Regions from separate parts of the Homo sapiens genome. Here all the other regions are linked to region 1. The links are contacts of gene promoters, found by promoter capture Hi-C in blood cells and fetal thymus (Javierre and others, 2016). All regions are on one chromosome and are shown on one strand. Each heading gives the region's core, a stretch centred on a gene start or on the middle of the fragment in contact. The rest is flanking DNA. Distances are from core to core; before and after follow the strand shown.

Region 1 (3,559 bases), core at 746-3,245:
TGAGAACCGTCTAGACCTGTACACAAGACCACAAGGGTGTGGAAACCGGGAGAGTAAGAGTCACCTCAAGTGCTTGAGAATATAGCTTTCATAGAAGATCTCTGGAAGAACACCAAGAAAGTGGCTGCCTCTGGGGAGGGAAACTGGGGCACTTGGGATATGTTGGGAGGGGGAAAAAGGATGGCTCTTTATTGCTATAGCCAAGTTATACTGTGGTCAGCACCTTAAAATATATGATGACATCTTGCAAACAGGCTTTTGTTGACCTAAGTGACTGTACCTTTTATCTTGAAATTACATAGAAGACAAATGGCTATTTATGGGTTCCTTGGCTGGCCCAGCTGCTGGGCACCACCCGCTCTGTTTGCATGTGTTCCTCATATTCTCCGGCCCTGTCCTCCCATCCCCACCCCAGCCTCTCCGAATCTAATTAGGAATAGTAGATGGTCACTAGAACTGACAAGAATCGCATTCTAATGGTTTTATTACAACTTCTATGGTGTGACACAGTATCAGGGAAAACCCAAATTTCCCACAGTAGCACTCCAATAGCAGAGCTATTATTTTGCTTCTCATTTCTCTCATTTTGGACGCTCCTGTTTTACCGTAAATATTCAAGTGAATTCTGCGGCTTATGATTTAAGCACTCTGTTTCTATAGAACATGGTAGCATAAGTTACTATTAGGAAAAGGATCTCACCATCTTTATCCTGTGGTCTCAAGCAGCCCTGCACACTTGCAAATCCCTAGAATACTGAGTCTACTTTTATATTTTTGCTTTTTCCTGTTTATTTAGGTGTTATTTAAATACATTAAAATTCACCCATTTTAACTGTACAGTTTAACTTTTCTTATGTATACAAGGTGTAACTACTAGCATGATCAAAATGTAAGATGGTTCCTTTACCTTCAAAAGCTTTTCCATCCCCTTTTGTCCGAGTTCAGTTATGAGACACTGGATTGGGTTTCACAGCCTTTTCTAGCATTGACTGGGGTGATTTCAGTAAAGTCACTTTACCTCTCTAGATGTGTTTCTGCTGTTGTTAAATGGGGAATGCTGGAACAGATTTGTTTGCGGGGACTCTTCCAATACTTTCAGAAAATGCGAGAATAGGGTGAGGGTGGGAATCTCAGACTTGTGGGCCCCATGATTGATATAACACACACAGGCGGCAGACCCTAATGGGTAAAAGCATGTGGTTGCATCAGTTAAGGTTTTTCTCTCTTCTCTTGCTAGCGTGTTATCTTTTCTTTTCTTTTCTTCTTTTTTTTTTTTTTCGAGATGGAGTCTAGCTTTTGTCGCCCAGGCTGGAGTAGGCTGGAGTGCAGTGGAGTGATCTCGGCTCATTGCAACCTCCACCTCCCGGGTTCCAGCGATTCTCCTGCCTCACCTCCTGAGTAGCTGGGATTACAGGCGCCCGCTACCACGCCCGGCTGATTTTTGTACTTTTAGTAGAGACGGGGTTTCACCATGTTTGGCCATGCTGGTCTCGAACTCCTGACCTCAGGTGATCCGCCCATCTCGGCCTCCCAAAGTGTTGAGATTACAGGCGTGAGCCACCGCGCCCGGCCGCTAGCGTGTTATCTTTTCTAAGCATCAGTTTCCTTATCTGCAACACCAGGCTTATTAACAAGACCTATCTGTACACTGTTGTGGTGATGAAGTGAGATGTTCAGGCACCCTTAAATGTTGGTTGATATTTTTATTGCAGTATACTGTAAAGTCACTGCATTCGACTATCTCCGCTACTACACATTTACGCAGACTGATTTCCATAACCAAAACACAAGCACAAAGCTCATGCCCCCGACTCACGCAACCCGGGAAGCCCAGCTGCCCACGTTCTAGGGCTCTGAGAACACTAGTGAACGAACTCCCGTGCTTTCAAAGAGCTGCGGTAGGGGGCAGAACCGGGAACCGGATGTTCTAAGCCTGTCGTACGAGCGCGACGTAAAGCGGATCTGCTTTATGGCACCTTGCTTTCGCCGTAAAGCGCAGTCAGCGAGCCCACGTGCTTGTGTTGACTGGACAACTTCCTGGTGGAAAACCGCGACTCTTGCAAGTGGGCAAACTTGACGTTTTCGCTATGGGCAAACGCGGGAGCCGGAGCCAGAGCCAGCTACTCAACACCCTAACTAAAAAGCAGAAGAAACATCTTCGAGATTTCGGCGAGGAGCATCCCTTCTATGACAGGTCTGAAGGGGCGTGGCAGGGCTCCCCAGTCGCCAGAGATGTATCCTCGAGTTTGGTCCTCTGGTCTCCCAGATAGTGCTGCTCCGGCCTTTTCCCACTATTCCCTGGCTCCCGCTGTGCTCGGCCGGGGAGATTCTGGCGCCATCCCGCCGGGAGATGGAGTGCTTCACGGGCCTTTTTGTTGAGCCTGTAATTTCCTGCTAAGAGGCACGCCCGTTGTGTGGGGGAGGATTTTTTTTTTTTTTTTAAGACGGTGTTTCGCTCTGTCGCCCAGGCTGGAGTGCAATGGCGCGATCTTGGCTCACTGCAACCTCTGTCTCCTCCCGGGTTCAAGCGATGCTCCTGCCTCAGCCTCCCGTGTAGCTGGGATTACAGGCGCCCGCCACCAAGCCCGGCTGATTTTTTGTATTTTTAGTAGAGATGGGGTTTCACCATGTTGGCCAGGCTGGTCTTGAACTCCTGACCTCAGGTGATCCACCCACCTCGGCCTCCCAAAGTGCTGGGATTACAGGCGTGAGCCACCGCGCCCAGCTATGGGGGCGGATTTTTGTGTGGTCAGAGATCTAGGAATTTTTTGTAGACACACATATATATATGTATATATATAATTTTTTTTTTTTAAGACAGAGTCTCGCTTTGTCGCCCAGGCTGGAGTGCAGTGGCGCGATCTCAGCTCACTGCAACCTCCGTCTCCCGGGCTTAAGCGATTCTCCTGCCTCAGCTTCCCGTGTAGCTGGGATTACAGGCGCCCGCCATCACACCCGATCAATTTTTTGTATTTTTAGTTGAGACGGGGTTTCACCATGTTAGCTAGGGTGGTCTCGAACTACTGACCTCGGGTGATCTGCCCGCCTTGGCCTCCCAAAGTGCTGGAATTACAGGCGTGAACCACCGCGCTTGGCCTGTTTTTATAATTATTTTTAACTTACATAAAATGATTGTACATATTTGTGGGATACAGTGTGATATTTTGATAACAATACATGTACCCAATGTGTAATGATCAAATCCGGGTAATTAGCATATTCATCATCTCAAACATCAATTCTTTGCGTTGGGAACATTGAAAATCCGCTCTTCTAGCCATTTGAAAATATACAATAAATTGTTAGTTATAGTCACATCATATGTTGTGTGTGTTTTTAAAGAATTTGTTGGGACATCATTGATCTTTGCAATTACGATAAGGAACTAAGTGTATTAGTAGTTGTGGTTTCTCTAGAAATGTCTAGGTGCAGTTATGATCTCAATGCTCATCCCACTACTTTGGGCTGCTTTGTCATCAGTTAGGGACATTCTTTTTTTCTTTTCTTTTCTTTTTTCTTTTTTTTGAGGCAGGGTCTCACTTCGTTGCCCAGGTTGGAA
Region 2 (3,559 bases), core at 648-3,147, 240 kb before region 1:
TTTCCGGAGGAGGGGAATGATTTCCTGGGGTCTCATAGGTTAGGACTGAGACAGGTTTGGGGACCAGAATGCTGAGCTTCTGGAGGAAAAGAGACATATCAAAGATACTGAGTGAGACCGTCCAACTGAGGGGCCCCTTTTGGGACATCCAAGGCCCTTTCTCCCAGTTCTGTAAGAGATAACAAGCAAGGTGGACACTGTCTTCAGTCCCTACATGTCAGCCAGTGTAGATGTTCTGTTTTTCAGGGAGGTGTTTTTAGACAACATACACCAGCACCTGAGGGGTTAAAAAGGAAACTGAGGCAGACAATCCTAGAAAGCTTCTCTGATTTTTTTCTGTCATCACCCATTCAGGATAATGGGAACTTATAATTTGATGTTTTTGTTTTTCATTCTTCCGTTCTGTCTTTCCATCACACACATCAATGCAAACACAATTTCACATACACATGCACACAGACTCACACACACACACACCAGGCAAAAATGCACAAGCATTTTTCTGGATAAGACTCATTACTGCACGCTGGGAGGGAGGGTGAGCAGAGCCGAGGAAAGGAAAGAGAGATGCAAGCCACCCTAGCTACTTTTACTCCCCTTTAAGGCTGCGTGGTTACGGTCCTGGGAAAGAAAACTCCTGCATTCCTCCCCTTTAATTGGGTTTATTGTTAAAGCACTGGAGCAGCTAATCCTCACAGACCTGTAGGAGCTGGAGTGGGAGCTCAAGCAGGATTCTTCCCGAGTCCCTGGGTAAGACAACCCTGCTTCTTTTCTTGGCTTTAGAGGGTCTCCTTGCTTAATGGGAAGCGTGCAGCACCTAGTGAGTGGATTTGAAGAGCCACTTTGTAAGCAACTTGGGCATTTATTTCAGCCCCAGTTCCAGTCTTCCCTGACTCTTTTGGCATCAAGGGTGAGTTATAGCTGTCTTGGAAAATAAGTCTGAATGGGGGGTCCGGGTGGAGCTATCTGTCCGTCACTCCTGGGCTGGCTTTCATGGAAGCATTTTGCCCTTCTGGGCAGGGAAAAGGGAGAAAAATATCTTCATGTGCCCCTCCTGCAATGCCTGCATTCTAGGGACAAGGCTCTGTGCCTAGAGGGACCCCGTCCATCTGCTGGGGTGTTAGGACCTCCAACTCTCTTGCACCCCTCCCTCCTGCTCAACCTTCATCTCTTAACCTCTCTGACCCCATCCATCAAATAAAGTATGCCCTCTCTGCCGACCTCTTTGGGTTATTGGGAGGATTAGCAGAACCAATGGCAAAAAGATTTGTAAACAGCCTGTGGCTCTGCAAGCCTAAGGAAGACGAGTCAGCCTCAGTCCCTCCTGGAGGAGTCTGTGGACAGGCTTCAGGCTCCCTATCCTCAGCCGCGTTAAGATGCAGAACGCAGCCGAGCTATCGCTGTCAGTCACAAGACAGCTTCCTTCACCTTCCCCAGGGGCGCGTCTACCTCCCTTCTGTTTTTAAACTTCCCTAGTTTACCTCTCAAGTGAAGATCTTAAAAGGAGGTCTGGATTCACCACCACCACCACCCCCATCCACACCATGGCCCCTTCTCTCCACGTAACTTTGACGCACAAACATTAACCCTGAGGCTCCCGGAGATGGCTGCCAGGGCTCACGCTGGTCTGGCTGCAGTGCTTGTCTGGCCAGCCTCTTGCTCTGGAGTCAGATAAATTGATCATGAGGAAAGCCTCTGAGAAGGGTCAAGAGAGTCAAGCAGATTCCGCCTTAGGTAAGAAGATGATCTTTTCCAGATCATAAGCTGAAGACAGAACAAGGTCCCTGTCATTCCTGCTGACCCAAGCTTAACCAGAACCAAAGATGAGACCCACCTCTGAAACAGGCCGTAACACAGAGTGCTTAGTAATACCTGATATGGGGACCACACTTTACAGTTTATAATGTGTTTATAATTAATCATCTTTAGGACGATCCCATCAGATGGTGTGGCATGTATTATTTCCCCTTTAGTATAGATGAGACCATTGAAGCTTAGAAGTTAAAGGGTTTGCCTGGGGTTGCAAAGCTGGTGATGGTGGTGGCAACTGAACCCAGATCTATTGATAAATTCAGTGAACTTTCCACGATGCTGCAGATTGCTCTGGTGTGTGTGTGTGTGTGGATGCTTATTAAGAGCACTCTTCAGAAAGTACTCTTTGGGAAAGAAGCTTGAGGTTAGAGTGAGAAATGGTTTGAGCTGGAACCATGAGAGGCTTGGGGCAATAGACATGCTGTCCCCAGCCTCCATGCTGAGAAATCTGAGTGCTTTAGGGATTCAGCCCTTTCAAGATTGTCCGAGCCATGTGTTCCCAGGGTAATCAGTCAGACGTTAGGATTGCATTACAGCATCATAAGGATGAAGGTGGAGATGAGTGACATCCCAGCAACTGCCACCAGGAAAGAGGCAACAGGTTATGTGGTACAGTGACGAGAAGACTAGCGTTGGAATCCAATTCAGTTGTATCATTCACTATCTGTTTGATGTGGGGGATTTTTCTGAACATTTCTACTTATCAGTACCTCAGCTGTAAAATGAGGTTACCTGGAAAGGTGGCCGTGGGGCATTAAACAAGATAATGCATGCAAAGTGCCTAGCGCGGTGCCCCACCCAGGTGCGTGGTCCAGGGCAGCGAATACTATAAAGCCTGGGAGCGATTCTACCTGGAAGTGAAAAAGCATCCCCCTCTAAGAGGAGAGCGCCTCCCTCGCTCCCTCTCCCCCATACACACGCACACAGGGCCAGAAATAAATTGCCACACGAGTGCGCGCGAGTGGCGGCGCCCAGCCGCAGCCTGCCAGCGCCAGCGAGTGAATGAGCTGCAGCATGAATGAGGGGAGCGGCTGAGTCTGCAAACAGGCTGCGTGCCTGGCGCTACAACTGCAGGCGCGCCGCCACGGTCAATGGCGAGGGGGTTGGGGCTGAGTGGGAGCGGCTGCCAGCAAGAAAGCAAACTGAAGCAGGCAGGGGACTGCACGGACTATCCAGGATTGTCAAACCCATGTCCTTGGAGGAAAGGCTGGTAACTCAGAGCTTCCTGACACAGCCCTTCGTCCTGAGTTCAGCCTGTCCTTCCTTTTGTACTCTATCCCTGGTAGGGGAAAGATCCTTCCTCTCCCCTTCTGGAAGCCAGAGTAGAGTGCCTAGCTGGGAAGGTTAATAGTAATGAGCGTCCAACCTGTACAAAAGAGGCACCTCTTGCATGGGATTGGGCTTGAAGGCGGTGTGTGACACACAGTCAGCGTTAACCTTGAAAACTCCTTAGAAAAGTGCCCCAGTGGAGACCTGCATATCACCTGTGAAAAAAACCAACAGAAGTATTATTTCCTCTCTTGTTGCAACAGTTCCCTGTTTTCTTGGTTGAGTACCAGATGAAGTAGTTGGCTTGCATTCAGGCTATGATGTACGAAAAATCATATATCTTTAAACACTTTAGAAACACAGTGAGATGAGATGCTCACACTGTGAAAGGCACGTGGGAGCTGGAACCAGCTGAAGAAATAGCAGATTCCTGTCTCCTGTCCTGTGCTCACCCTGTTTAAGTCCTTATTGGTTTCCC
Region 3 (3,559 bases), core at 413-2,912, 220 kb before region 1:
ACCAATACATGTTAATCAAATTGGATAGTAAATGTTTTAACATCACTCCAGCATAAAATTACTGTAGGAGCAGAAGCCACAGGTAGATATATTTCAATATAAAGAAAGATTTTCCCAAAACAGAGTCACCCAAAGTTAAAGACAGGCTGTGATTGTATGTGTCCATCTGTAGGACAGAAGTGGTGCTTCATTAGCAAGGTCTCTGCGTCATTGCTGCATCCAAACAACAGCTCTGCCTGACAGCAACTGCTGTAGAGGTTGGTCAGTGTTCATAAGGGCTCAGCATTGGGCTCAAAGACACTTCTGTTTATAAAGTACACACACACACACAAATACACACACTTGCACATGCACAGACATACACGCACTCACACACCACTCTGCAATCTCAGCGTGGCTGGACACAACGTGGTTTTTGGCTGATGGGCTGATTACTAAGAAACTTTAACGAGATAACTCAGGCCTAAGCACCTGATTAACTGGGGGCTTATCTGAGGACCTCTAAAGAGAGGTAGCAGGCAGTCAAGGGAGTGAGGTGGAAAGGGCCCCTAGTGGCACTAACAAGTGATCAGGGACCATCAGGCACTACAATGAGGCCAAGCCAACAGGATTAGCACACAGTAATTCAGAAGGCAGGGAGGCAAGGAGATGGGAAGAGTTGGATGTCCCTGAGGAGACACTAAGCCTCCTCAGAGCATAGCTCCAGGACTCAGGCCCCTCAGGGTTAAGAATTCATAGCTCTGTACAAAGAGTGTATTTCCTACAGGCCTTCAGCTACTATAGGAGCGCCCAAAGCCTAAAGACCAAAAGCCAAAGAGCAGGATGAGGTAAATTTTGATCGGAGAAATTCTTTTCCCTCATCACTAGTTGGGCATGGATGGCCACATCTAATGTCATGGGACAGTGGTAAGGGGGACTAGGAGGGTGAGAGGACTGGAACCCCTGGCTCACGGTTGAAATAGTCTGGGAATGCTTATCTCAGAGAAGGCAAGCCCTCCGGAGAGCATTTCACTATCTTTGTATACTTGAAAGGTGCACAGGAAAGGCTGTTATTCTTGTTCTGTGCAGTCCCGATGGGTGGAATTGGTAGCACTGGTAGAAATGACAGGGCATCAGGTTTCAACATAATGTGCAGAAACATTAGGAATATTCCAAAAAACACTCTGTCTTAGGAGGAAGAGTGTTCTCTGACACTTATGTGTTCTAGTACTCACTAGAAAACTTCTAGGCAAAAATAGAGTAGATGGTATTCATGAGATAGAAGTCAGACTTGATCTTTAAGCTCCCCTGGGTCCTAAGATACTCTACCATTTGAGTCTCAAAGCACCCCTAAAGCCCTACCTGTAATTCCAGCTTTATGAAGCCCAATTTCCCAAAATGAGAAGAGAAATCTTGATATAAGTACGGTTAGTCTCACTTGCATGCCTTCTCTTTCCTACTTTGCTTAATTTCTGTGTTACCTCTCTCTTTCATCATGGCTTCCTGTGTCATAGGCCAGGAAGGAAGGTGGCTAAGAAGTGTGTCCACACTAAGGGATTATTGGCTTCTTGTGCAGCCCCAACCAGAAGCATTTACATTTTAAAGGAAATTTTCAGAGAGAGAGGTCAATGCTTGGCCCAAAGAGATGACTGCCTAGTGATATCACTCCAGGTACCCAGAGTGGGTGTTCTGAGACTGGAGTAGTCTGCTGGCAGCCCTTCAATCACAGTTCATGGGGGCCTGCCTGTTCCACTGCAGCTGTGTCCCCCAAGGCTTCAAAGCAAACACCTTCTCATTACTTTGAGTGAAATGAGAACTGAATTCCTGTCTTGATCCTATGCCCACAGTGTTTCTGGTGGGGAGCTCTTTGACCGGATCCTGGAGCGGGGTGTCTACACAGAGAAGGATGCCAGTCTGGTGATCCAGCAGGTCTTGTCGGCAGTGAAATACCTACATGAGAATGGCATCGTCCACAGAGACTTAAAGGTGTCAAGGCGGGAGTCCTGGGTGGGAAACAGATAATGACCCTTAAGGAAGCTGCATGGGTCATGGGACATCTAAGCTCCATAAAGTAAGAGGGTTGGACTAGTGACTCCCAAGGCCCCTTCTGCCCTTAGATTCCTTAAACAGACCTTGGATGAGTGAACAATGGTTACTAATTTGCACCTCAATTTTTCCTGAAACTTTCACTATGCCTTACCCTATTTCAATACCAAAATAATACACACATTTCTTACATCCAGCCACAGTCAAAACCCAATGCAACAAAATATTTACTGAGGGCCTACATTGTACTAGGCCTTGCACTGGACTCTGGAGAGATCAGACACCATTAACCAAAGATTGGTTCTCTCAAAACACAAACAGGGTAGTTGGAAGTGAGGGAAGGAAAGGGTGAGTATATTAATGTTTACAAGACCGAGCAAAGTCAGAGCCATAAGCAAGGTGCAGACTACTGGGGTGCAGGTGTGAGGGTGCAGGTAGGAGGAAGAAGGGAAGAATGGGGGAGGATGAGCTGGCCTTGAAGTCAGGAGCCCAGGGCTCATCTTCCTGTGAAATTTTGTATCAAGGGGAAGGAAAATACTTGCTTCAGGTGGTTATATCCTACACTACATATTTTTTCTCCTACAGCCCGAAAACCTGCTTTACCTTACCCCTGAAGAGAACTCTAAGATCATGATCACTGACTTTGGTCTGTCCAAGATGGAACAGAATGGCATCATGTCCACTGCCTGTGGGACCCCAGGCTACGTGGGTAAGTCTGGGAGCAGGAGGAAGGTTGACCAGTTGGCTACATTCAACCACATGCCTATCATTCATAGAAAGGGGTGATTCTGAGAACATAGGGTTCAACTTCAGGGGCTATCCTGGTAGGACATCCACTTATAAAGTTTAGGGCCAGCCAATTCATCCGTCTCAGGATCTATCTCTACTGCTCCCAAATTCTACATTTTTAAAGACCGCCTACCCCTGAGCCCTCCAGAGTCCCTGCCTATGCTTTGGCTCTCATTTCTGCGGATAGACTTCCAGCCTTTGTCTTTCCAGCTGGACCAGGGGCAGACAAGATCACAAACCCAGAGATCAGCAGAGAGCTGAGGGGTTGAGCACCAACCCTACTCCTTTCTCCCACTCTGAAGGAGACATTAGCCCCCAGTTCTTGGGAGCCTGGAAGCACAGGATATTGAATTTGGGCCTGAGGAACCCAGAAATGGGCTCCTAAATGTCCACCCAAGGAAGCACTCTGGGAAATTGGCAAAGGTGGAGCTTCCTGCTTGAACATCCCTGTAGGTTTCCAGGGCCCCCAAAAAGAGTGAGAGCAGGCAGGGCACCTGGAAGAGTATTCCTGGGATCTACAGGAGACAAAGTTGAAACTCAGAGCATCCGCTCCTGTCCCTTCCCACTTCACCAGTCGTCACCTGTTTGCAGTTGGGTAATGGGAAGCAGAGCTCTGACTCAAGAGAGGGAATCTACCCTCCCAGAAAGGCAGGTCATTCACTCCTCAGTAGGTATTGAGTCCCACCAGGTACAAAGCTCTGGTAGCTGCAAGAAATACAGAAGGCAGCTCTCTACACCCCACAGG
Region 4 (3,559 bases), core at 628-3,127, 210 kb before region 1:
TGTGTCCCTCGGGGCTTGCATGCAGCATAACTGTGGTTGAGTTTCATTAAGTGGGTTTATCCCAGCAGCAAGCTTTCATAAGGACCTTCCTAATAGAGCTCGTCAACCTCTCTTCTAACCCAGAGTCCCACTCTCAAAACAAGGCTTCATGTGCACCTTCTCAAGAAAGCCTTCCAGGATGAGCACATCCCCACCTAGATCTTGCCCTTCCTTTACTCTGCACCACTTCAGCTGCATCCTCAGGGTCAATCGGTATGACATTCAGTCGCAGAGCCTTCTGGGTCTCAGGATGGGCTCAGTAAATATTTACTGCTTTGAGCAAAAGCATGGGAGGAGTTGAGACTGCAAATCAAATTAAACTCAGTCCCTGCCTTTATGGAGCTGGAAATCTAATGGGAGACAGGCACATGAACAAGGAAGTACAGCTTTGAGTGAGCGGAGTAAACACAGGTGCTATGATGGCCATGGAAGGGGCCCCCAGCGCCATCTGATAGGTCCAGGGAGGCTGCCTGGAGAGTGGGATGCCTAGATTCCTAGAGGATGAGCAGGAGCTAGACAGGTCAGCAGAGGTGGGAGAGGGGAGACGATCCAGAGAGAGGAAAAACATTCGCAAAGGCAAGAGGCAAGAGAAAGTGTGTTTGTGTATGCACACTCGCATGTGTGTATGTATTTGTGTGTCTATGCCGTAAAGCAATAGGGTGTGAATGACAGAGTCAGACAATTAGGCTTGAAGCCTACCTGCACCACTGCCAAGCTAGATGCCTTTAGGCAAGTTGCTTAACCTCTCTGTGCCTAGATTACTTGTGTGCAAAGTGGAAGTAATAAGAGTACTTAGTTCATGTAGTCAGGAATAAATGATGTAATACATGCAAAGCACTTGGAACAGTGCCTGGACTCAGTTAGAACTTAATAAGCCTTAACTATTCATTTTGTCAATTCCATTTGAAGAACTGGGAAAGGCGATGTTTCCTCCTCCCTCCACAGACTTTCCACTCTCCCTCCCACACTGTGACCCTATATCGGACAGCAGCCAGCGCTCAGTGGCTTCTGCACCAGGACTCTGGAGACCAGAGTCCAAGCCCACCGCTACAGAAAATTTTCCTGGGTTTCCCCCTGGGGCCAGGCCTCTCTCAGGCCCTGCTTTTTCTCTCTGACCCTGGACTCATCATAAGACTTGACCTGAGATACAAGTATAAGAGAGAGGACAAAAGGGGCCTGGCAGCTCCCTGTCTGTTCACATGAGCCTCAGCTGCACCCGGCAGGAGAGAATTCCAACTCACCTCCCACCCACTGAGGCCAGAGCCCTGGCTGAGATTAATGCAGGATGAGTGGCCATTCAGCCTCACTGGACTTGACTCAGGGGCAAGAATCCCTTATCCATGAGCCTAAGCCCCACACCTTGACCTCCCCCATCATCCACGTTTGTGGGGCACAATCTCCCTACATCCCCAGGTAATATTTTCCCCAGGTGAGTGCCTCAAGGCCTTATGCAAGTCATGAGACCTCAGAAGAACTTTCCTGCCCCTCTCTGACCTGCCACCTGCACTCAGGAGGGGACTTCGGCCTATCTGGGGCAAAAACACTGTAATAGTAGCAAGAGGAGCCACTGTCATTACACCAAGCCCTGGGCTCGTATTAACTGGGCTCCCAGCCAAGCAAATAACCTGGCAGGAACCAGAAATCTAACAATATCAACTCTTGTTCCTGAGGCACTTTTCCTTTTTCAAAACACATTTTACATCAGTTATTTGATCCTCAGAATAAACTTGTGAAATACTACCGTCCCCATTTATAGAAGCAAAAGATGAGGCAAAGAGAAAAGCAGCCTGCCCAATGTCACACGAGTCTCCCGGGTCCTGTTTAGGGATCTTTCCATTGTACAGCCCTTCCTCACTCCCCAGAGCAGTGAGGAAGGGTGTCTGGTTCATTTATTCATGCCACCAATGTCAGATGTCTTTCTGTGTCTGGCCTTATGTTAGGTGCTGGTGACACAGTAGTCAACAAGACAGACAACCATCCTTGCCCTCCTGGAGTCCCCATTCTAGTGGAGTGACAATCCACTTGTTGACAACTGAATGAGGGTGAGTAGTGCAAGGAAAGTAAGATGATGGGGGACAAACAGATCGGATGGTCAGGAAACACCTCTCTGGGGAGATGACCCAGAGGACAAGAAGCAGCAGCCCTGGAAAGAGGACTTCAGGCAGACAAAGAGCAAATAAACATCCCTGAAGCAGGCAAGAGCCTGACATGTTCAAGGACAGCCAGTGAACAAAGCAGAGAAGAGCCCAAGGTCACTCCCAAGAGATGGACAGAGGCCAGGCTCTGTAGCCACGATGGGAGTTGAGAGCTCATTCCAAGAACAAGGTGAAGCCACTGAAGGATTTTAAGCAGGAGTGAGATGTGATCTGACTTATGCATTTTAAAAGAGATATTTCAGCTGTTGTGTTGAGAATGAGAATGGGTCACAAGGGATTGGAGTGGGTGGGGAGGGCAGACGGGAGAACGAGAAGGTCATGGCCATGGTGCCAAGGAGAAGTGGAGGCCTGGATGTTGCAGGCCTGGGACTAGGGAGGGAGGGCTGGCTGATGCACTGAACATGGGAATGCGGGACAGGCAGGACTGGAACAGCAGCCAAGGTGGGGTGGAGACTGGGCTCACCTGTTAGGAAGTCCCGGACCTGCTGGATTAGGAGCCGTGTGCGTCTGACATCTTCCTCCATCTGGGAGCGGCTGGCGCTCACCTGGGTCTCCAAGCGCTGGGCACTGGATTGAATCTGTGAGGCAGATTCCTCGGCTGCCCTAATCTGTTGACATACACTCTAGGTCAGAAGGGGTAAGGCCCCAAGGGAACCTCTCAGCAGCCCCACGATTCTGCGGATCATCCTCTATGCCAAGACCTACCTAGGAAGCATTTGTAACCAACCCAGCTTACATGTGGATGTTCAGTAAAAGAGAAAAAAAACTATCTTGCACTTGCTGTGGCACCTTAAGCAGGTCACCTAAAATCTCTGGACTTTAGTGTAAAATGGGAACTCTGACTTGCCCGGGGGATCTATCCTGTCTGCCTCCTCCTACCTGTGCCCACCCCGCCTCGGCTGCACTTACCATCTGCCTGGTCCGCTGGAGCTGGGCATTGAAGCCCCGCAGCTGCTCAGCCACCTGCCCCGCCATCAAGAAGGCCCCACCGGCCCTGGGAAGGACACCCCTGCAGCGGGAGCCACAGGCTGTGCCATTGTCTTGGGGACATAGCTCACCAGGGCATGATATTGGGGTGCAAGCCATCTGCCTGGAGTTGCCACAGAGCTGTGGACAGATGGCGGTGTTAAAGAGGCTACCCAAAGCCCCTCAATAACCAATCCCACCCCACACCTGGGAAACCAACAGCCAGACATCTCCATGACAACCAAGCACCAGAAACAGCCAGACATCTCCATGAGAGCTAAGGACCAGAAACTGGTTTCCTTGGCAACCACTGAGCTCACAGTGAGCAGTACAAGGGTCGGGATGGCTGGGGGAGTGGGGTTCTCACAGGGGCAGATCTGCCCTAATAGGAAGCAGGT
Region 5 (3,559 bases), core at 666-3,165, 190 kb before region 1:
GCAGTCTTCAGCCCTCCACATCCCTGCCTCTTGCCACCAAGCACATTTCACCCTCCAGGCCCTGTGTGCATTCCCTTGCCCCCAACCCCAGTCATATACCTCATCTTCTTGCCGCCTGCCTCCCGGCCTTTGTGCTTATGGTTCTGTTTTCTTGGAATAAACATTGCCCTTCCCCTGGCCATTACTGGTCTATGAAAGTTCATCTTCCCCTGGGTGCACTCCCTGACAAGCCCTCCCAAGACAGACCATGCAAGAGCCCCATTCTGGGCTCCCAGCACCTCTTCTTACCAATATCAGAGCACACATTGCACTCTCTCACTACTGACTTCCCCACGTATGGTGAAAGCAGCTTGAAGACTGTGATTTGGTTTTATTCATCTTTATATCCCTAACATCTGACACCAAGCCTAATGAGTAATCAGTGTTCAATAAGCGCTCACAAATAAATGACAAATAAATGAACAGGTGAGCGATGATAAAGTGAGGAGACTATTTAACACTGTCTATCAAATGAATATGCTGCCCTTCAAAGTTGCCACCTTTAGAGACTGGGCATTTATTCAAACAATGCTGGCATTTCTCAAAATATTTTTGACCTTTAGATGGGGCAAGGCTCTTAGAGCCAACTTCTTCAGTCATGTAAGAAATTAGGTCCTATTACTTTTTATTCCAAGCTCATTTTAACTCCTGAAAATTATATCTCCCTTCCTAATCCTTTAATCTTATTAACCAAATTTGATCATTGAATATCTGACTATTTCTGTAGAAAGAATAAAACCAAATCATCTCTGAAAAGAAAAAATTGACCTATGGCAATTAAATGAAAATGTTTCCTCCAAAAGAAGTATCTAGAAGGATGTTCTAAAGGCAGAATCTGAAAGTGCTTTGAGAAGTAATGGCGCTGAATGAGTAGATTGCCCACCAAGAGAGCTGCACCAAAGGAATATCCATCAGTTAGTTGGATAGGCAAGTTCTTGGCTGCTTGTTAAAGTCAATCTAATATGCAAAGTTATTAAAACAGAGTATACCAAGAATACACAACTGTACAACAAGCAACCGGGCCCAGTAGAATTGGTACTTGGCAGAGCTGAATTAATTAGATGGGTTGAGGGTGGAGAATGAGAGAGGAAGAGGATATGCAACCACTGCACGGCCAAGACAGGGAGCCAGGAGGTGCCACTTTTAGCCCAGGAGCGAGTCCTCTTCTGTCACCATGATATAGGCTCATGGTGAGTGTTGCCCCAACCCAGAGAGACAAGGACACTGTGCTCCTCCATGGCTCCACGCCCACATGGCCCAGGAGCCCCTCTCCTATCCACTGCCACCCCCAGGAGGCACACCTGGAACTCCATCATGACTTCTTGAAGCTGGAATCTCCTGTCCAGGTCCAGCTGCAGAGAGACAGGGTTCACATCTGGAAGGACAAAAAATAGAAACTGTCATCCAGAGACTGTCCACTTCCCCAGCCCTGAAGGAAGCCCTGGATTAGACTAGCTCTAGGAACTCAGAAACTCTCTAACCTTGATTTTCCAAACTCCCTCTTGGAGAGGAGTGGGGAGTGGTATGTTTCTGCTTATATTATCTATTCAAGATCCTATCTGTTTTTGGCTAAGTTTCCTTCCCACCATCACCTGATGTCTTCAATACTTTGGAGGGCTTCAACTTGTCTGTTCCACACAGACTTGTTCCCCAAACTTAATTCTGCAAGCCCACCCACTGAGACTGAGTGGAGGGAAATAAAGACATTCCTCTCTCCTCACACCCTTTCTTTCACCTCCAATAAATTCTTCTACCATAACATCCAACAGACCCCAAATATGAGGCAGAAAGATTCTTCTTATCAATCACCCATGTCACACCACCATAAGAAATGCCTGGGAAACCCAAAGGGTTATAGGGCACCTTCCATCCGTCTTATCCTGTGGAGGCTGTACAGTTTGAGTTCCCGTAGATGGCAAATGCTCACCATTCTGTGACTGCCACCAGCGCATGGGGCCGGAGGATGAAGCCACATTCTCTACTCGGTGACTGTAGTAGTTGTGAGGCTGCCTGGAGTCACACTTGCAGCATTTCATCTGCCACTGTGGGAGAGGGAGATAGCAGACACTCAGAGGTGGGGTCCTGATAGAATTCCCCCTTGCGTCCTGAGATCCCAGCATATCTCCTCTGTGGAAATCCTGCCCTTAGGAATCACTAATTTTATTAATACAATTTGAAGGGTTAATCTCTTAAAACACAGCTATTGATCACCTTTTAATTGGTCATCTTTTAATTCCTTGGTGCCCCTCCTAACACATAGCAAGTGAATGGTGAATAGATGTGTGAACGGAGAAGAGGTACGAGGTGGGAAAAAATACTTGAGTATATGATATTGCCTTGCAGAGAAACTTGAGAAAAGTGCCGAGAAAAAAAAAAGGGGGGCGGGGGGAGAAATTCATATTATTTGAGCATCTACGACATACTGGGCACAGGCTGGAAAGTTTTATAGTTTACCTCATTTAATCCTGGCAGCCTGGGAAATTCTGGGGTTTTAAGGATCAGAGAGAGAGGACTCCAAAAGAGGACAAGGAAATGTGGAGTTACAGTCCTAGCTCTGTCACCTCTACTTCCTAGGCTTAACTTTCTCCTCCATAAATTAAGTGGGGATTGAGCTAGAGCTTTTCATTTACCCAGCAAATGCTTATTTAGCATATACTATGTGCCAGACTCTACTCTGGGCTCTGGAGTTACAATAGGGAACAAAACAAAGGCCCTGCCCTCAGGGACCCAAAATTCTAGTGACATTCAAATGATCTCTAAGGCCTTCCAGCAGTGACATCTGGGGCGTGAGGATCTTTCTCAGGTTCGGTATTCCCTACCTACAGGAGAGCAACCGGCCTCACTGGGGAGGTCACCAATAACCTGGCCTACGCTTATCTCTTGGAATGAGACAGGAGCCAGAACTGAACCCCATAGGTTTCATGGCAGAGCAAGGATCACCAAGAAAAAGAGCATGGCCAGAGAGGCGATATATCCCTTGTTCTTTTAGCTTGTGCCTATGTGCATACATATACACATACACACACACACACACACGCACACGCGTGCACATGCGCACACGCACACACACACACACAGATAACACGACCTTTTCCCAGCTCCCCCATATAACATACATAAAATCTGCTTTCTCTGAGTAGCCATGATCCCAAACCCTGTGCGCAGCTTAAACCATACTGTCCAGAGGGCTCCAGATTTACCCACAAATAGATGCAAGTCTTGGACAAGAAACTCCTGGACCTGCAGGTCCTTCTGGGTAGGGAAAACTGTCCCTCCACACACCCTGTACCGCTGCTTTCCTCTAAGCCTCCACTCACCAGAACAAAGAACCGACCCAAAGAGTCTGAGTGGATATATGGGGCCTATGCCTTGAGTGATAGAACCTCCCTGCCCAACACCCATCTTCCCTCTCCAAAGCTGGCACAGCCTGCAACAGGAGAGAGCAAAGAGGGGAGCCAGGTGTCTTGGTTCCCTGGGCCTCTGCTTCCCACTCCACTTTCCAGGTCTCACCCAGTCTGCA
Region 6 (3,559 bases), core at 770-3,269, 170 kb after region 1:
GCTACTGGATTGTAGCCCAAACTGCAACACCAAAAATCTGCTGATATATACACCTGTGAAACCAAGTGCAAGTGTTTACCTAAAGATGTTGTACGGAGCCCTAGTCCTCTGAAAGCACCCAGAATTGAAGCTAACTGACTATATACAGTTAACACTGCAGAACACCAACCCTCCAAGATGAGAGTCAGTGCTAGAACTCTGGCAATTCAAAAAGCCAAAGTGTCCCCCTACCTCCAAATGAATCTACTAGTTCCCCAGCAATGGTTCTTAACCAGTTTGAAATGACTGAAATAACAGTCATAGAATTCAGAATCTGGATAGAAGGGATGCTCATTGAGATTCAGGAGATAGTTGAAACACAATCTAAGGAATCCAGTAAGATGATCAAGGAGCTGAAAGAGGAAATAACCATTTTAAGAAAGAACCAACTGAACTTCTAGACCTGAAGAACTCACTACAAAAATTTTATAATACAATCAGAAGTATTAACAGCAGAATAGAACAAACTGAGGAAAGAATCTTAGACTTTGAAGATTGTTTCTTCAAGGCAACTCAGACAAAAACGAAGAAAAAAGAATTTTTTAAAACTGAAAAAAACCTCTGAGAAATATGGGATTATGTAAAGTGATTAAATCTAAGACTCATTGGCATTCCTGAGAGAGAAGGAGAGAGAAAAATAACTTGGAAAATATACTTGAGGATATAATCCATGAAAATTTCCCTAATCTTGCTAGAGGTTGACATGTTAATCCAATAAATACAGAGAACACCAGCTAGATACTATAGACAGGAACCGTCACCAAAGCACATAGCCATCAGATTCACCAAGGTCAACATTAAAGAAAAAATCTTAAAGGCAGCTAGAAAGAAGGGTCAAGTCACATACAGAGGGAACCTCATTAGGTTAGCAGCAGACCTCTCAGTAGAAACCTCACTAGCCAGAAGAAATTGGGGGCCTATTTTCAACATCCATAGAGAAAAGGAATTCCAGCTAAGAATTTCATCTCTTACCAAACTAAGCTTCATAAGTGAAAGAGAAATAAAATCTTCATCAGATTTTAAGCAAATGCTGAGGAAATTTGTTTCAACTAGACCAGCCATATAAGAAGTCTTTAAGGGAGTGCTAAACATGGAATCGTAAGAACAATATCTGATACCACAAAAACACACTTAAGTACGTAGCTCACAGGTACTATAAAGCAACTATGCAATCAGTTCTACCTAACAACCAGCTAACAAGATGATGACAAGATGAAAATCATACATATCAATACTAACCTTGAATGTAAATACACTAAAACCCCACTTAAAAGACACAGAGTGGCAAGGTGGATAAAAAGAGAAAGCTCAACCATCTGTTGTCTTCAACAGAACCATCTCACCTCTTGTGACACCTGTAGGCGCAAAGGAAAGGGATGGAGAAAGATATGCAAACAGAAACCAAAAAAAGAGCAGAAGTCACTATTCTTATATCAGATAAAACATATGTTAAGCCAATAAAAATTAAGAACAATGAAGGACATTACATAATGATGAAAAGTACAATCCAACAAGAAGACTTAATTATCCTAAATACATAGACACCAAACATTGGAGCACCCAGATTCATAAAACCAGTTCTTCTTGTCCTACGAAAAGACATATAGACAACCACGTAATAATAGGGTGAGACTTCAACACCCCACTGACAGTGTTAGATCATCAAGGCAGAAAACTAACAATGAAACTCCGGACTTAAACTCAGCATTTGACCAATTGGACCTCATAGACATCTACAGAACACTCCACCCAACAACTACAGAGTATACATTCTTCTCATATGCATACTGAACATATTCTAAGAGCCAGCACCTGCTCAGTCATAAAACAAATCTCAGTAAATTCAAAAAAACTCAAATCATACCAGCCATATTCTCAGACCACAATACAGTAAAAATAGAAATCAGTATAAGGAAGATCTCTCAAAACTGCACAAGTACATGGAAATTAAACAACTTACTCTTGAAACTCCTGTGGGAACGTTGAAATTAAGGCAGAAATAAATTATTTGAAATTAATGAAAATGGAGACACATCTTACTAGAATCTCTGGGATGCAGCTAAAGTAGTTTTAAGAGAACAGTTTATAGCCCTAAATGCCTTCATCAAAAATTTAGAAAGATCTCAAATGAGCAATCTACCCTTGCACCTAAAGGAACTAGAAAAGAAGAAAAAATACCAACCCAAAGCTAGCCGAAGAAAAGAAAGAACTAAAATTAGAGAAGAATTTAATGAAATTGAGCTACAATAATCCATACAAAAGATCAATGAAATCAAGAGTTGGTTCCTTGAAAAATTAAACAAGACTCATAGACTGCTAGCTAGATTAACAAATACAGTTGGAAATGACAAAGATGGCAGTATAACTGATCCCACAGTAATACAAAAGATCCTCGGAGAATGATGTGAACAACTCTAATGCACACAAATTAGAAAATCTAGAGGAAGTGTATAAAATCCTGGAAACATGCAGTCTTCCAAGATTGAATAAGAAAGAGATTGAAATCCTGAACAGATCAATATAAAGATCTGAATTTGAATCAATAATAAAAACTCTACTAACCAAAACAAAAAAGACCTGGACCAGGTGGATTCACAGCCAAATTCTAACAGACACACAGAGAAAAACTGGTGCCAATCCTACTGAAACTATTCCAGGAAATCAAGGAGGAGGGACTCCTCCCTAACTCATTCTACAAAGCCAGCATCACCCTAATACCAAAACCTGGCAAAGACACAACAAAAAAAGAAAACTTCAGGCCAGTATCCTGAACATATTGATGAACATAGACACGAAAATCCTCGGCAAAATACTAGCAAATCTAATTCAGCAGCATATCAAAAAGTTAATTTACGATGATTAAGTAGCCTTCTTTCCTGGGATGCAAGGTTGTTCCAACATACATAAATCAAAAAATGTGATTCACTGCATGAACAGAATCAAAAGCAAAATCCACATGATCATCTCAATCGACACAGAAAAAGCTTTAGATAAAATCCAGTATCCCTTCATGACAAAAACCCTCACCAAACTAGGCATCAAAGGAACATACCTCAAAATAATGAGTCATCTATGCCAGACTCATAGCCAACATCATACTGAGTGGGCAAAAGCTAGAACCTTTCTCCTTGAGAACTGGAACAAGACAAGAATGTCTACTCTTAACACTCTTCTTCAACACAGAACTGAAAGTCCTAGCCAGAGCAATCAGGCAAGGGAAAAATAAAAGGCATCCAGATAGGGAAAAAAAGAAAAAAAAAAGTCAAATGGCTTCTTTTTGCTGACGATATGATTCTACACGTAGAAAATCCTAAAGACTCCACCAAAAGGCTGCAAGAACTGATGAACAATTTTAGCAAGGTTTCAGGATATGAAATCAGTGTACAAAAATCAGTAGCATTTCTATACACCAATAATGCCTAGACTGAGAATCAAATGAAGAACACAATCTCATTCATAATAGCCACACAAAAAATGAAATACCTGGGAATACATCTAACCAAGGAGGTGAAAGATCTCT
Region 7 (3,559 bases), core at 529-3,028, 160 kb before region 1:
CCTGCCTCAGCCTCTCGAGTGGCTGGGACTACAGGCACCCGCCACCAAACCCAGCTAATTTTTTGTATTTTTAGTAGAGATGGGGTTTCACTGTGTTAGCCAGGATGGTCTTGATCTCCTGACCTCGTGATCCACCCGCCTCAGCCTCCCAAAGTGCTGGGATTACAGACGTGAGCCACAAGTCTTGGTGATTTTTCACATTGGAGAGGTGATGGAGAGCAAGGAGGAAAAGATGGCTCCTTGACTTCAAACCTGAGCTGCTAGGTGAATGGTGCAGCTTAGGTTAAGAAAGATGGTTACAAGTTTATGGGGTAGAAATATTGAATTTGGCTTTAGACACAGTAATTCTGATACCTGCAAGACATCCAAGTCAAAATGTAGAATAGGTAGAGGGATACACAGGTCTAGAGCTCAGACTTGTAGGTCATCTGTGTAGAAGCAGCAATGGAAGCCCTGGCAGTAAATTAAATCACTGAAGAGAGCATGTGGAATAAGAAAAGGGGCTCCAGGACTGAGTCCTGAGAAATGCTGACATTTGTAGGTTAGATAAAGAGGACAATTGAGATAAAGATCCTGAGTTTTGTCCAGAATAGGGTAAGAGGAAAACCAGCAGAATATGGTATCGTGGAAGCAAAGGAGAAATGTGTTTCTAGAAGGGAGTGGTCAGCAATTCCTAGGCATGGGATGAATAAGTGATTATTGATACAACTGCTTATTATCTGGCTCCTACTTACTGCTTCCTGCTCATTTTCTGCCATTTCCCAAAATCCATCCTTTATGATTTAACACCAACTTGTCTAACTTCTCTTGGACCATGTGATGCTTTATCTTTCATCCTCCCTTTTCACATGCAGTCCCATCTCATTCAAGGCCTCCCCATGCCCTGAACAACACCCTGTCCCAGAACCACCTGGTGAACACCATCCATCCTTTAACATCCCAAGCCTCTCAGGAATCATTTACCCTTAGGCCTTCTTTGACTACCTCCTCCCCAAAGGGCATCAATACCTGTCTCATTCTGTGCTTTTTGTTCATCTGGTATAAATTTCTATTACGGTGCCTTTCCCAATATACAATAATAACTCGTTTACAGTCTGTGTCCTCTACTTCACTATAAGCTTCTTGAGGGCAAATGCAGTTTGTATTCTGCATTTTTTTTTTTTTTTTGAAACAGAGTCTTGCTCTGTCACCAGGCTGGAGTACAGAGGCATGATCTCGGCTCACTGCAACCTCCACCTCCTGGGTTCAAGTGATTCTCCTGCTTCAGCCTCCCATGTAACTGGGATTACAGGCATGTGCCACCACACCCGGCTAATTTTTGTATTTTTAGTAGAGACAGGGTTTCATCATGTTGCCCAGGATGGTCTTGATCTCCCAGCCTCCTGATCCGCCCGTCTTGTCCTCCCAAAGTGCTGGGATTACAGGTGTGAGCCATCACACATTCTGCTTCCTATAACTATGCTTAACACAGTGTCAGGTACATGGCTGGCTTCAACAAATATTTTTGGACCTTACTAGAAGCTACCTAAATGTCACCTAAGGAATGCAAATGTCCCGGGCTGGGATAAAGCATCATGGAAATTGCCGACGTAGAGCAAGAGGCAAAGACAATTGAATAATAACAGCCATCATTTAATGATTGCTTCATTTGTGCCAGAAACTGCCTAAGTCCCTTACAGAGCTCTATCTCATTCACTCTTCATCATATCTGTTTCATAGGGGCTTATCATCATCACCACACCCCATTTAATAGGGGCTATCATAACTCTCACTTCACAGATACGGAAGTAGAAGTTATAGAAGTTAAGTCACTTGCCCAAGGTCAGGCCTTAGCAAATGGAGGAGTCAGGATTTGGAGGAACCCAGGTTTGCTTGACTTTAGAGCCCTATACCCTTAAGACCAATTGGCATTTGAGCTTGGGGAAAATTCCTTGTGCTGACTCAAACTTGTAAAGTATATTGTTTAATCTGGAAGTGGTATGTAGGCAGCAGGGTGCAGGTAATTCTAACCACACCACCCATGGCTATTCAAGGCTTCCAGCACAGTCTGCATGCCCCAGCAGCTGGTGGCTCTGCTTGACCAAAAGTTATGAAGGACAAAAGCAGAATGCCTATAAAGTCTGTTCCTTTGCCTTGATTTGTACCACGGGCAGGCTGGAGGGTGCCCAGAGTGAGCCAATGGCTACAATGTCAGACACTAAGTTGGGAGTGGAAGTGAAAGGTGAGGAGACCAGAGTGGAGGAAACTAAGCCAAGTTGCCAGGTCTTGGGCAATTTCAACACCAAGGCTCTGAGCCAAGGACAGGCTACTGTGCTTGAAATAACTTCCCAAGAGAGCCTTAACTGGTCACTTTGCCCTCTCTATCTCAGCACTGACTTTTAGGTCAATGTAACTAATATTGATTAGCCTCCTATTCTATGTTAACACCATGAAAGATACAAAGCTTTTGTCTTCCACAGAGCTGAGGCAAGCCCACAGGAAACAATGACAGAGTTGTACAAAACGGTAATCCATCCAGTGCCAGCCTGTAGAGTACAAGCCCCAAAGGCAACTGAAATTCACAGAAAGGAGAGATCAAGGTGTGCTGCCATGGGCAGTGGTAGCTTCTTGGAGCACAGGAAATTGAACTTGACCTCAAGGAAGAAAGGAAGACAAAGTAGAAAGAGGACAGCATTTCAGGTAGAAACAACTGTGTGAGCAAAAATAAATGAAGCAGCAGCAATGCGAATGAATTGTTTCTTGGCCTGTGAAGAAACCTCTCTGTGGAGCAAAGGGCTATTGTGGGAGAAGAACAGGAGAAGATCGGACCATAGAGAGCCTGAATTCCAAGAATACTAAATCAAGCAAATTCAACATGCAGGATCCAGGAGTCCATTATGTGGGCAATGAGAAATGATCTTGGCCTTTAAACAGGCAGTTGACAATAAAAAATTAAATTTTAGGAAGATTCATTTGGTGGTAGTGTTTAAGATGGATTAGAGGAGAAAGGATTAAAAGCAAAAAAACTGTCCCCTCAAAAACCTGAATGCTTCTTTAAGCATCTACTAAAAGTTGGACTGCATTCAAAAACAAACAAACAAACAAACAAAAAACAGTCCCTTCCCTGCCAGGCTTCACAGTCCATGGAAAAGCCATTCATTAATCCCATAGTTACCCATTAAGGACCTATTATGTGCTAAGAATTATACTGGGCACTGGGGACACAGTGAGGAGCAAACCAAAGTCCCTATCCTCATGAAGCCTATCCTCCAACGCACATGGAAGACAATATAAAACCACACCATTAAGTACATCCACATAGAATCAGGTAACCAAGTGCTATGAAGAAAAAGAAAGTAGGGCACTGGGTGGAGAGTGGTGGGATGCAGTAGTCAGGGAAGGCCTCTCCAAATAACTTCCATGATATTTCAAGCCCAGAGAACAAATGAAACGGAGATGTCACTGCTAGAAATAAGGATATTGAGAAGAAGACTTAGCTTGTAAGAGTATAGAGAAGGTAAGGAGTCTTGTTTTAAGTGTGTCAAGCTGTGATAATAGCAGTGTATCCACACAGAAATAT

What was found. Contacts are between HindIII fragments. The CHiCAGO score rates a contact against its expected background, and 5 or more counts as called.
Region 2: a fragment that was not itself captured here is called in contact with the fragment with the promoter of UTP25 in region 1 in 8 of 17 cell types (non-activated CD4 T cells, neutrophils, total CD4 T cells and 5 more); the score reaches 14.9 in non-activated CD4 T cells.
Region 3: a fragment that was not itself captured here is called in contact with the fragment with the promoter of UTP25 in region 1 in 5 of 17 cell types (neutrophils, non-activated CD4 T cells, total CD4 T cells and 2 more); the score reaches 12.3 in neutrophils.
Region 4: a fragment that was not itself captured here is called in contact with the fragment with the promoter of UTP25 in region 1 in 1 of 17 cell types (neutrophils); the score reaches 16.0 in neutrophils.
Region 5: a contact is called between a fragment that was not itself captured here and the fragment with the promoter of UTP25 in region 1, in 1 of 17 cell types (neutrophils). The highest score is 12.7, in neutrophils.
Region 6: a contact is called between a fragment that was not itself captured here and the fragment with the promoter of UTP25 in region 1, in 1 of 17 cell types (endothelial precursors). The highest score is 5.2, in endothelial precursors.
Region 7: a contact is called between a fragment that was not itself captured here and the fragment with the promoter of UTP25 in region 1, in 2 of 17 cell types (neutrophils and non-activated CD4 T cells). The highest score is 6.0, in neutrophils.

Annotation. Positions count from the first base shown.
Region 1 is chr1:209,825,977-209,829,535 of GRCh38, forward strand. UTP25 (UTP25 small subunit processome component) reads left to right here and starts at 1,996. Exons shown (of 12, transcript NM_014388.7): 1 at 1,996-2,194. The coding sequence starts at 2,088. RefSeq lists an enhancer at 2,036-2,085. The HindIII fragment of the contact is 3,327 bases long and covers 915-3,559 here.
Region 2 is chr1:209,583,023-209,586,581 of GRCh38, forward strand. CAMK1G (calcium/calmodulin dependent protein kinase IG) reads left to right here and starts at 692. Exons shown (of 13, transcript NM_020439.3): 1 at 692-750. LOC107985256 (a long non-coding RNA gene) reads right to left here and starts at 3,343. Exons shown (of 3, transcript XR_001738443.2): 1 at 3,179-3,343. The HindIII fragment of the contact is 187 bases long and covers 1,805-1,991 here.
Region 3 is chr1:209,603,710-209,607,268 of GRCh38, forward strand. It overlaps CAMK1G (calcium/calmodulin dependent protein kinase IG), which reads left to right. Exons shown (of 13, transcript NM_020439.3): 5 at 1,827-1,965; 6 at 2,611-2,734. Among named protein-coding and RNA genes, the nearest start is that of MIR4260, 18 kb to the right of the region's middle. The HindIII fragment of the contact is 5,493 bases long and covers 1-3,559 here.
Region 4 is chr1:209,619,878-209,623,436 of GRCh38, forward strand. LAMB3 (laminin subunit beta 3) reads right to left here. Exons shown (of 23, transcript NM_000228.3): 17 at 3,105-3,302; 18 at 2,659-2,803. Among named protein-coding and RNA genes, the nearest start is that of MIR4260, 1.9 kb to the right of the region's middle. The HindIII fragment of the contact is 3,615 bases long and covers 71-3,559 here.
Region 5 is chr1:209,636,568-209,640,126 of GRCh38, forward strand. LAMB3 (laminin subunit beta 3) reads right to left here. Exons shown (of 23, transcript NM_000228.3): 4 at 1,967-2,081; 5 at 1,341-1,414. Among named protein-coding and RNA genes, the nearest start is that of LAMB3, 14 kb to the right of the region's middle. The HindIII fragment of the contact is 6,306 bases long and covers 1-3,559 here.
Region 6 is chr1:209,993,873-209,997,431 of GRCh38, forward strand. The region is part of intron 2 of SYT14 (synaptotagmin 14); the gene reads left to right. Among named protein-coding and RNA genes, the nearest start is that of SYT14, 57 kb to the left of the region's middle. The HindIII fragment of the contact is 2,003 bases long and covers 1,019-3,021 here.
Region 7 is chr1:209,668,628-209,672,186 of GRCh38, forward strand. The region is part of intron 1 of HSD11B1-AS1 (HSD11B1 antisense RNA 1); the gene reads right to left. Among named protein-coding and RNA genes, the nearest start is that of G0S2, 5.0 kb to the right of the region's middle. The HindIII fragment of the contact is 1,325 bases long and covers 1,117-2,441 here.